Regions from separate parts of the Homo sapiens genome. Here region 1 is linked to region 2. Evidence: promoter capture Hi-C in 16 types of primary human blood cells and fetal thymus (Javierre and others, 2016). All regions are on one chromosome and are shown on one strand. The core of a region is centred on a gene start or on the middle of the fragment in contact, and the rest is flanking DNA. Distances in the headings are between cores, read along the strand shown. Region 1 overlaps SKAP1 (src kinase associated phosphoprotein 1). Region 2 holds the start of HOXB-AS2 (HOXB cluster antisense RNA 2).

Evidence for each region. The method cuts DNA at HindIII sites, captures the fragments that hold promoters and counts their contacts. A CHiCAGO score of 5 or more calls a contact.
Region 1: a contact is called between a fragment that was not itself captured here and the fragment with the promoter of HOXB-AS2 in region 2, in 15 of 17 cell types (naive B cells, naive CD4 T cells, total CD8 T cells and 12 more). The highest score is 10.5, in naive B cells.

Annotation. Positions count from the first base shown.
Region 1 is chr17:48,352,830-48,357,808 of GRCh38, forward strand. All of the region lies in intron 3 of SKAP1 (src kinase associated phosphoprotein 1), which reads right to left. Among named protein-coding and RNA genes, the nearest start is that of SKAP1-AS2, 61 kb to the left of the region's middle. The HindIII fragment of the contact is 1,511 bases long and covers 2,048-3,558 here.
Region 2 is chr17:48,554,276-48,559,644 of GRCh38, forward strand. It overlaps HOXB-AS2 (HOXB cluster antisense RNA 2), which reads left to right and starts at 1,882. Exons shown (of 2, transcript NR_046610.1): 1 at 1,882-3,083; 2 at 5,311-5,369. It overlaps HOXB3 (homeobox B3), which reads right to left. Exons shown (of 5, transcript NM_001384749.1): 3 at 1,256-1,343. The HindIII fragment of the contact is 1,381 bases long and covers 1,762-3,142 here.

The sequences.
Region 1 (4,979 bases), core at 1,553-4,052, 200 kb before region 2:
AACTTGTCTGATTACTAAGCTCTTGTTCTAATCCACTGAACTATATAGCCTGAAAATCTGCATGTTTAATAAATCATGATCATTACTCAAAGGCAAGGCATATTGAATGACAGCCAGTGAGTTGACTTTATGGTATATACTATCAATTAGTATTTTAACTTTAATAAAGTAAATCTATAAATTATGATTATTAGTGATAATAGCAGTAGTCACGTTAGGTATGGAGAGTAGAACTGACAGACAAAACAAAATTTGGTCAATGATTTGGTCAAGAAAGAAGTGGTCCAATTCATAGTTGAAATTTATTATCGAGTAATGTAGTAATTTTTTCAAAATATCACTTTTTGGTATGAATTTCATGCTTGCAAAATTTAGAACAGCCACCTCAGGCTTAGTGAAATCAATATACTGATTTTTTTCCAGCACCTTCTGTTTGATTCTGTTGGATACTTAAATATAGCATTGACCTGGCTTGGTTAAAGAATGTGTTTCCTTTCTGGCACCATCATGCTTTAAGTCTCAGAGCAGGAAAAGCCTTTGAAAAATATATAATGCCACATAAATGTAGCAATTTTATTACTATTGGTTCATCTTGCTTTCTTGTCCCATCTTTCCTTTCTCCCAAACAGCAAGTTGTAGTAGGCCTTAGCACTTATTTACAATCCTGATACATTTTGGGGTCTACTATGCCCCAATTGGTAAGCCAACATTACTTAAGAAACTTCTTGAGAGAAACTACAAGGCTAGTTGGATTCCAATATCTTCCATTAAAGAAGAATGAGATGGCCGGGTGCAGTGGCTCATGCCTATAATTGCAGCACTTTGGGAGGCCGAGGCAGGTGAATCACCTGAGGTCAGGAGTTCAAGATCAGCCTGGCCAACATGGCAAAACCCCATTTCTACTAAAAATACAAAAATTAGCTGGGCGTGGTGGCAGGTGCCTGTAATCCCAGCTACTTGGGAGGCTGAGGCAGAGAGAATTGCTTAAAACCCAGGAGGCAGAGGTTGCAGTGAGCCGAGATCGCGCCATTGCACTCCAGCCTGGGTGACAGAGCAAGACTCTGTCTCAAAAAAAAAAAAAAAGAAAAGAAAAGAAGAAAGAAGAAGAGGAAGAAGAAGAAGAAGAAGAAGAGGAAGAAAAAGAAGAAGAAGAAGAAGACATGTTGTACAGGCTACAGGTAGATATAAGAAATGTTTTTCAAAAGTCCAAGGAGTAAAAATAAAATAATACATAGTAAAGAATGGATTATGGGTAAGATTAGCAGGCCTAAACATGTGAGCCAGCTTTTAACATACTGAAGAAAGGGTAAGTTTTCTTTGTGATAACATAAACCTCCAATACCACTAAAGCTGTAATGGCAAATGGTGACAAGATTCAACCTCCCCATGCCACATCCCACTCCAAACAGGGATTCTCATTCACATATTTGACAACATGTATGTAACATCATTATCAACAGCCAAAACCTCTCACTGTCAAGAATTCAGTTCAATATTTGGTTCCTTGGAAAAAAAGTTTCACATGAAAAAGTATCTCTTTATTTAAAAAAATTACTTTTTAATTGAGGCATCACTAACACAAGTAAAGTGCATAAATCTTAAGGGTAAGTGGTATCACTTTTTAAGTTTAGGAAAATACATTTTAGAGATTAATCATGATCAATAACTTTTCCAGGATGGCAAATGTGTGTTAAATTCACATCAGCTGACAAGGACCGATAGGGTTCACAAGATTGGTTCTTCCACTACTTGCCTCACAAGAGTCAGCAGAAACTGGAATCTTTATTTTATATGTCATATAAATCCCCTTGCCTATAACTTAGCAGTCCCTTTCCTGTGCTAGTGATACTTAGCCATCTTCATAAACAAGTTTCTGAGAGAAGCATGTGTTGATGAGAAGCCAAATGAAAAATAAATGCTTTCTAATAGAATTGGGTCCACCTATTACATTATTTAGCCTCAAAATATCAAGCAAATTCATTGGGTTTCAGGTCTGAAGTCTTAACCTACTTACTCACAAAAAAGTTTTAAGCAAAAAAAACAAAAAAGCTTGTATTCAAATGGACTACACTTTTCTCTCAATATTTTGTGTTTAGAACATGAAAGTTTGTTAGAGGCACAAGTCTTGATGAACACTAATTCTTATGTAAAAATTCTATGCTCAGAAACTGTACTCCTCACCTGATTTTCTGTGTTAGTCCAGGAATAATACCTTCTAAGAGAAATCATTTATAAGTTGTTTTTTTCCTCAACCAAAGTCCCCTGGGCTAATCAAACAAACTTAAAGCAGTCATTAATTTTCAGTGACTTGATTTTCCTTGACATCTATGTGAAGACGAAAATCTGAAGTTCTGTGAACTTCTAAAAAGACTAAGATGGGGTAAGAAAAGATATCATTATCAGTCACCATGAGTATTATACAATACTAATTTAAAATTGTTATTATTTTTGTTTTGTTTTTGTTTTGAGACAGGGTCTCACTCAGTCACCCAGGCCAGAGTGCAGTGGTGCAATTGCAGCTCCCTGCAGCCTTGACCTCTCAGGCTCAAGTGATCCTCCCACCCCAACCTCCAAAGTAGCTGGGACCACAGGTGCACACCCCCATGCTTGGCTAATTTTTGTATCTTCTATAAAGATGGGGTCTCTCTGTATTGCCCAGGCTGGTCTGGAACTCCCAGGCTCAAGCAATCAGCCTCCCTCGGCTTCCCAAAGGGCTGAGATTACAGATGTGACCCACCATGACTGGCCATATAATTTATTTTTAAATTCACTTTTTCACTTGAGGCCAGGAGTACGAGACCAGCCTGGCCAACATGGCAAAACCCCATCTCTACTAAAAATACAAAAATTAGCCGGGCATGGTGGCACATGCCTGTAATCTCAACTACTTGGGTGGCTGAGGCATAAGAATTGGTTGAACCTATTGGTGGGGGTTGCAGTAAACTGAGATCGTGCCACTGCACTCCAGCCTGGGTGACAGAGCGAGACTCTGTCTAAAAAAAAAAAAAAATTCACTTTTAAGTGATAAGTAAACTCAACACACCTATATATACCAACGTTCTCAAACATTAAACAACAGAGAATGCTGCTGTTTTATACCATCATCAGGGCCTTTCCCATTAATTAACATTTCAAAATAAATAGGCCAGGAGCAGTGGCTCATGCCTATAATCCCAGCACTTTGGGAGACTGAGGTGGGCAAATCTCTTGAGCCCAAAATTTCGATACCAGCCTGGTAACATGGTGAGACCTTATGTCTACAAAAAATACAAAAATTAGCTGCGCATGGTGGCTCATGCCTGTAGTCCCAGCTACTGGGGAGGCCAAAGTGAGAGGATCACTTGATCTTGGGAGATGGAAGCTGCAGTGAGTGAGTCGAGATCAAGCCACTGCACTCCAGCCTAGGTGACAGAGCGAGATTCTGTCTCAAAAACTAAAATAAATAAATAAATAAATAGATAGATAGATAGATGAAAACTTGAGTGGGTAAGAAACTGCTAATCATGATTCTACTGAAAAATAGATTACTACCATGCTGTTTTTTTGTTTGTTTTGGAAAGCTTCTTTATTAAATAAAAAAAGTTAAGTATGCCCAGAGCAAAACCTTCAAATGTTACAGGAAGGCATATAATGAAAGTTCATCTATCCTCTCTTCTCTTGATCCTTCTCTCCAGAGACAACCATTGTGAGATTTCTTGGGTGTTCTATGAATTTTTGTATCTAATATAACAAGGGTCTCTGTGTGTGTGGCATATGTATTTTTTTCCTCTTTTTAAACAAATGGTAACATTTGTTCTGTTCTGTATCCAGCTTTTCTTCCTAACCATTTATCTTGACAACTGCTCCATATCAGCAATATAGATTTATCTCATTTTTTATTTTAACCAGTTTTTAACATTAAAAAATAATACATGCACATGGTGAAAATTCAAATAGTACCAAAGAATATTCTCTCTTTCATTCATATCAGTATCCCCCTCAACAGTGATTACCACTGTTAATAGATACATATGTATCCTTCCAAAAATATTCTATATACAAATAAAAACACGTGTGCTTGTGCCACACACACACACAGAAACAAACTATACACACTAGTTTGCTCAAATTACCCTTTTCATCTAACAATACTCCTTGGAGAACCTTCCATATTACGTATTACATACATATTACATATATATGTATCATTTTCTTTTAACTCTATATAGCATTCCATTAAATGGGTGTATGTTTATTTAACTAGTCCCCAATTGCTGGGCATTTAGGCTGTCTGTTTGCTATTCCAAACAATGCTATCATGAACATCCTTGTACATAATACATTGTATAGGGAATACAGAAGGCAGCATTACCTGATTCCAATGATTTCTTTTACCTGCATAAAATTTAGTTCTTTTTTTATATCTTAATATCATCTACTACAGAATAGGAAGGACTTTTAGAAAGGACATAAAAATCTTGGGAAATGTTAACTTTAGAAAGGAAAAAAGTGAGTCTTTTTGTTAAAAAAAAAATCTTTTGGCCGGGTGCAGTGGCTCACGCCTATAATCCCAGCACTTTGGGAGGCTGAGGCGGATGGATCATGAGGTCAGGAGATCGAGACCATCCTGGCTAATACGGTGAAACCCTGTCTTTACTAAAAATACAAAAAATTAGCCGGGCGTGGTGGCGGGCGCCTGTAGTCCCAGCTGCTCGGGAGGCTGAGGCAGGAGAATTGCTTGAACCCAGGAGGCAGAGCTTGCAGTGAGCCAAGATCGTGCCACTGCACTCCAGCCTGGGTGACAGAGCGAGACTCTGTCTCAGAAAAAAAGAAAAAAGAAGAATCTTTGATAGTCATTGCAAAACAATTGCTGCATTAATTTTGAAATGCATTATTCTGCCCTTTTAAAAATGCATTATTCCACTAAAAAAACCACCCTACCAGTAGATGTATAGGAAGTAAATTATTTGAAAAGGTATCAAAATTAGTAATTAACTTCA
Region 2 (5,369 bases), core at 632-3,131:
TGGAGGGGGTTGGCTGGCTAGGCCCTGGCTTTATTTAGTCTGATTGTTACAGCAATAATAATGATGACGATGATGATGATAGTAATAATAATAAAACAATAATTTAACTAGATGCCTGGGGCCGAAATTCCTGCCGCTCCCCTTGCAATAAACCCCAAACCATCGCGGGACGGAGGCCAGGCGAGTGTGGAAAGCGAAGGAGCCAGAGACGCGATAGGAAAGAATGGAGACTCCGCCGGTGGTGCAGACAGGGCTGGGAAGGTTTGTGCACCCGGGTAGTCCCTGGCTGCTGCTGCCAGGCTGCCTCAGCCGGTCGCTGCTGCCGCGGCGACTGGCGACAAGCTACCAGCCACCTACGATGGCCCAAGGAGGCGAAGAAGAGCAAGCGATCAGGACACCAAAACGGTTATCGGAGGCAGGTTCCCAGCACACCAGCCGGCCGAGGGCCGAGCCCCGCGGGCGGCAGCAAGTTTTGGGAGCTGGAGGTAACCGAATTAAAAGGCGCCTTAGAAACTCCGCTTCGGGACTTTGCTCAGCAGGGCTCCGGGTTGGAGGGCGCCGAGGCCTGGCGGACGGGACAGTGGGAAGAGAGAAAGGTGCTAAGGGGACCCAAGATCTGGGATCCAGAACAAGAGGGGGTGGGGAACAACTCTACCAAGCCAAACAGATCTATTTCCCTTGCCTCCATGTTGGAAAAATTCAGGTTCCATATGGCTCCTCGGGAGGGAGGGAGGGAGACGGTGGCTGCCGGCTTCCCCCCAGGGTCTCGCTGGAGAAGGGAGATGAGCCCCCCGCAAGAACCCCACCTTGCCAAGCACACCCCAGGGAGAGCCAGGAGAGTAACAATAGCTGGGGAAGCCCCGAGAGAGGGGATAGGCCATCTTCCAGGACTTAAAAAAATTAATGGGAGAAAGAAAAATAACAAGAAAGGAAGACAGAGAAAGGTTGAGACTTTCTTAGCAGCCGCGGAGAAAATTCAGCCCTGGATCTGGCTGCTGAAAGAAAAGAGAGAGAGGAGAAAAGAGGAGAGAAGCAGGAAGAGAGAGGGGAGAGAGAGAGGGAGAGAGAGAGAGAGAGAGAGAGAGAGAGGGAGGGAGGGAGGGAGGGAGGGAGGGAGAGAGAGAGTCGCTGCGTGGAAGGAAGCTTAAAGCTTGTGAACTCTTCTTGAACCGAGATTGGAGTCATATGGGCCATAAATCATTGAGACATACTCTCCGCCATTCACAAACTGATAGCCTATTTCAGTCCAGCTTACCTTAGCCACCGACGAGGGGAGAACAGGCAGACATAATATATATTCACATCGAGCCCCAGAGCGAGCGGCAGGCGACAAATCTCCCCTCCTTGAAGGCAAAGGAAAAAAAGACCACTGTTTAAAGCTGCGTCGCCCCCCGCCCCCCCGCCCCCGCCCCGCAAAGCCACCCCGGCTGGGGAGCCCGAGGGGCAGACCGGCCAGAGGAGCCGCGCGGCGTCCGCTTCAATTCACTCGGCTTAGGAGCAGGGGTGCGCAGGAGGGAGGGGGTGGGGGAGCGGGAAAAAAAATAGAAGACCGAAAGGTGCCGGGCGGCTCAGCTCGCCAGAATCCAGCTCCGGGCTCCAGCAGGGCTAAGCCGCCACAGTGTGGTTGCCCTATAAGACTGGTACGCCCTACTCTCCGTAACAATGGCCTCTGCTTTTGCACAGGGAAAAAAAACCACACAGACACACACACACACTCACTCACACACAAGCTCACACCCCCCCACCTCTCCCCCTTTAGCAAGCTTAGATGCCTGATAAGGAGGGAAGGTGATGGTGGTGATGGGGAAGGGGGGAAATTTTAAAATACCCGCCTCCCCAAAAAAAGAGTAAGAAGAAAAGAAGGAGGGTTTTTTTTTTTTCCTTAAAGAACAGGTAAAAATTTAAATCTAGATTGGAGGGACAGGGAGGAAGAGGTGAGCAAAGGCAAGGAAGGGCGGTGAAGTTCACAGCTCCCCCCATACCCCACTAGTGAACTATTATGCTAATATGAGAAGTAGTATTTGGAGGCTGAGTCAAAGGCAGGCCTGGCCCGGGGGTGAGGGTGCCGGGTGCCCCTCTGCACTCATTCGCAATTGGAACACCAGGACTTTTTTAGAAAGTAGTTCTGGGTCTCCAACCCTCACACTCTGGCTCCCTCCTTCTGAGTCTCCAGCCCCGGCTTCTTCCCTCCACTACACCCTCTCTATTCCTCCCAAATCTCCCTCCAGTCTCCAGGCCCAGTCTCTAACCAAGGGAGAGGGAAAGACCAGAACTTAAAAAAAAAAAAAAAAAAAAAACACCCCTCCCCCTTTTTCTTTTTGAGAACAGACAACAAGCGGTGAGTGATGATTTTAAAAACTCTGAACATCTTGCAGGGGGAGGAGGGTTGAGAAAAGGGTGACAAAAGGAGGACTCTGTGTTTTAGTTTGAGCTCCAGACTGGCTGGCAGTAGACGGGCTGAAAGAACTTCATGGATAAGTTTCTGTTATGATTCTCACCTCCGAATAGGCAGAAGGGGCTAAGAGGTGATAAGGACATTTGTACTTCTAAGAAGAGAAGAACTAGCAGGGTCGCTTAATTTTAAATGCACTGGCAGAAGAGATGGAAGATGGTTATTATTATTATTCAGAACAACCCTGTTTGTTTCTCTCTGCCCTGCAAGATTTATGACTCTTGGCACAAGTGAGGAAGGCCACAAAAGCTAAAGTTTTCTTAGGGTGTGTTTGAGCAGGGCAGGAAAAGGCAAGGAGGAGGCCTGTAGGAGGAAGACAGGAGCCAAAAATGTAGGTGTCTGCAGATTTGGGACAGGGGGTGGGGAATAGTCATTCCGGGAGGAAGGAAAAGACAAAAAGAGCACCAGGACATTTCCCAAAGCAGGAGTGTTTGCAACTCTGCCTAACTGCTGACTCGGAGCTAGGGGATGAAATAGAAAGCTGACTCTTTTCTCTAAAGGCAGCTTGGAAAACTGGTCCTCTTAACTTCATGTAAGGCACTACCCTGTGATTTCCTGGTTAGAATACTTGGCTTTTGCCTTCTCCCATCTGGATGCACCAGAAGAGGGAACGGGACTGGGGACAACAAAGGTGAGAGTTGATTTCCAGCTTTTGTGTTCCCTCCAGCATAGGTTGGAGGTGTCTGGCAAAGCTTCCCTCATTCCCTCTCTCTCCCCACTCACAGGCTCTACTTTGGGATGAGATAGGGAGTGGCCCCTGGCCTCCAGCCCCTACTTCTTCCAGGCAAGGCTAAGTCAGGCCAGGTGATTTGGAGCAGCCGGTTTCCAGGGGCCCTGATAAACTGGGGGTACCTATGGCCTTCCTGCCCTCCAGCAACAGAAGCCACTTGCAGAGCCTCAGAATGTAATGTCCTGAGGACCCCACCTCCCACCTAGAAAGTTGACAGCTGGGGGGAAGCACGGGTTGGGGGACATGGGGATGGAGGGTGGGAGCTATTTTTCTGTGTTTATTAGCTATTATTCTGTGTTTATTAGTATTTTTCTGTGTTTATTAGTAGTATCAAGAAAATAAAACATCCAAGTCAGACCTAGACTTGGGGCTCAAGCCAGCCTGGAACCCCAAAGAGACCTGTTAGGGGTGCCTGAGCATGTGGCTGCAAAAAGTCTGTCCTGAGATCTCTACACTCTGGTTAGAGACCTACAGGGTCAGACCCCATGTAACTTTGAGCTTGGTGGGTCAGGGACTCAGGCCAGGGAGGCTTCCAGAGGCTTAAAGAAACCAGTACCTTTGGGGTTTTTTTTTCTATCACTCCCCCAAATAAAAAAAAAGCCAAGAATGTACCTCAAAACCTCTGCTGTCCTAGCTGTTACTATCATTGGGTTAGAGAAGGTCATTGTAAAACTGAGAGAAGAGGAGAACCTGATCGCTTTTGGGACTGCGCAGCTTTGCCTCTAGGAATAACACGAGAGTCCAGAAGGCACCCAGGCAGCCTCGGGCCGGCTGCAGGAGAAGCGGGCCTGGAGCTGAGCTGGGAGTGGAGGAGTGTTCCAGAGACAACAGCAGACCCCTCCCTTCCCCAAGCCTCCTCAACTCTTTGTGGTCCCTCGGGCTACAGAAGGCAGTGGGGCATAGTGGGGTGGGAGTGAAAAAGAGGACCGAGAAGCAAGAAAATGAACCTGGAGAAAATCTCAGAGGACATATACCCCCAAATGCGGTAGGAGATGGAGTGGGGGCTTCTTAATTCTGGAGTACAGAGCCCATTTGGAATACTTGGGAGGCAATTAGATCCCAGTTTAGTTTCTGTCTTGCCTTTTTTCTTCCATTCTCAGAGGTCTCTGGCGAGCAGGCGGGCTGCCCTCTGATTAGGGCTGGGAGGCTGGAGGACGGAGGGTGGAACAGGCACCCCTAAGGGCCCCTGTTTGGACTGAGGTGTTGCTGCTAGCCAGGGGATTTTCAAACTTCAGGGGATAAAGGCTGGTAGTGAGGAGTTTGAGCAGGGAACTTGGGGTGGGGGACGCCAGAGCAGGCTGAGGGAAGACTTTGGGGTCTGGGAAAAGAGAAGCAGGAGAAGGGCTTATCATCCCTGAGAGTGAAGCCATGATTTCGGAACAGACTGGAGATACAGAAGAGGGAACAATTTCTTCTTGGATTTGGGAGGGAAACCTGGAAAACTGTGTGTGTGTGCCCATGTGTGTAGGGTGTGTGTGTGTGTGAGAGAGAGAGAGAGAGAAAGGAGGAGAAAGAGAAATTGAAAAAGAGGAAAATTGAGTAAGAGACAGAGACACTAGCATAAACTAATGAAGTAAAAAAATAATAAGGGTAAAGATTAGAGAAAATGCCCTTCTTCACAGACATCTTTTCCTCTTCCATTCCGTTTCTTCAGAGCCAGAGCACTCGCTCTGGCACTTCTCTCCCCCACCCCACTGGGTACCCAGTATCAGGCGACGGGAGCACTTTAAACCCTCTGGAACAATCAAGGGCTACCCGCCCTTCTAGACCTCGGCGGCGGGATCGTGCCTGTTTCTCTCCTCCCCCAAAAATGCATCAACTAGCAAACAAAAATTCTCTCAATAAGGGCATACTGGTTGGCTCTTTTAAAACCAATTTCTGATCTCAGACTTGGGGCAGTCAAGGATCCTGCCCCTGGCTCAATCCACACAAAATTTGCCTGGCCCAAAGGCTAGCTTGGGAGCTAGGACCTGTAAGCCTGGGGCGAGATGTTTGGCGATGTGTTTCTTCCTGGCCCTGTCTGGGTTCCCAGTCCCACACTGTTTTCCAGCTTCACTGCCCAACTTTGTAGCCCTAGAAAAGTGGTGTAAAGGTCACACACTCACCCGAATCTCCATTTTCCCCTAAGTATTAACGAAGATTTCAAAGCTGGGAGTTGTAAAGTGGGAATTGCTAATGAAGAAGGCT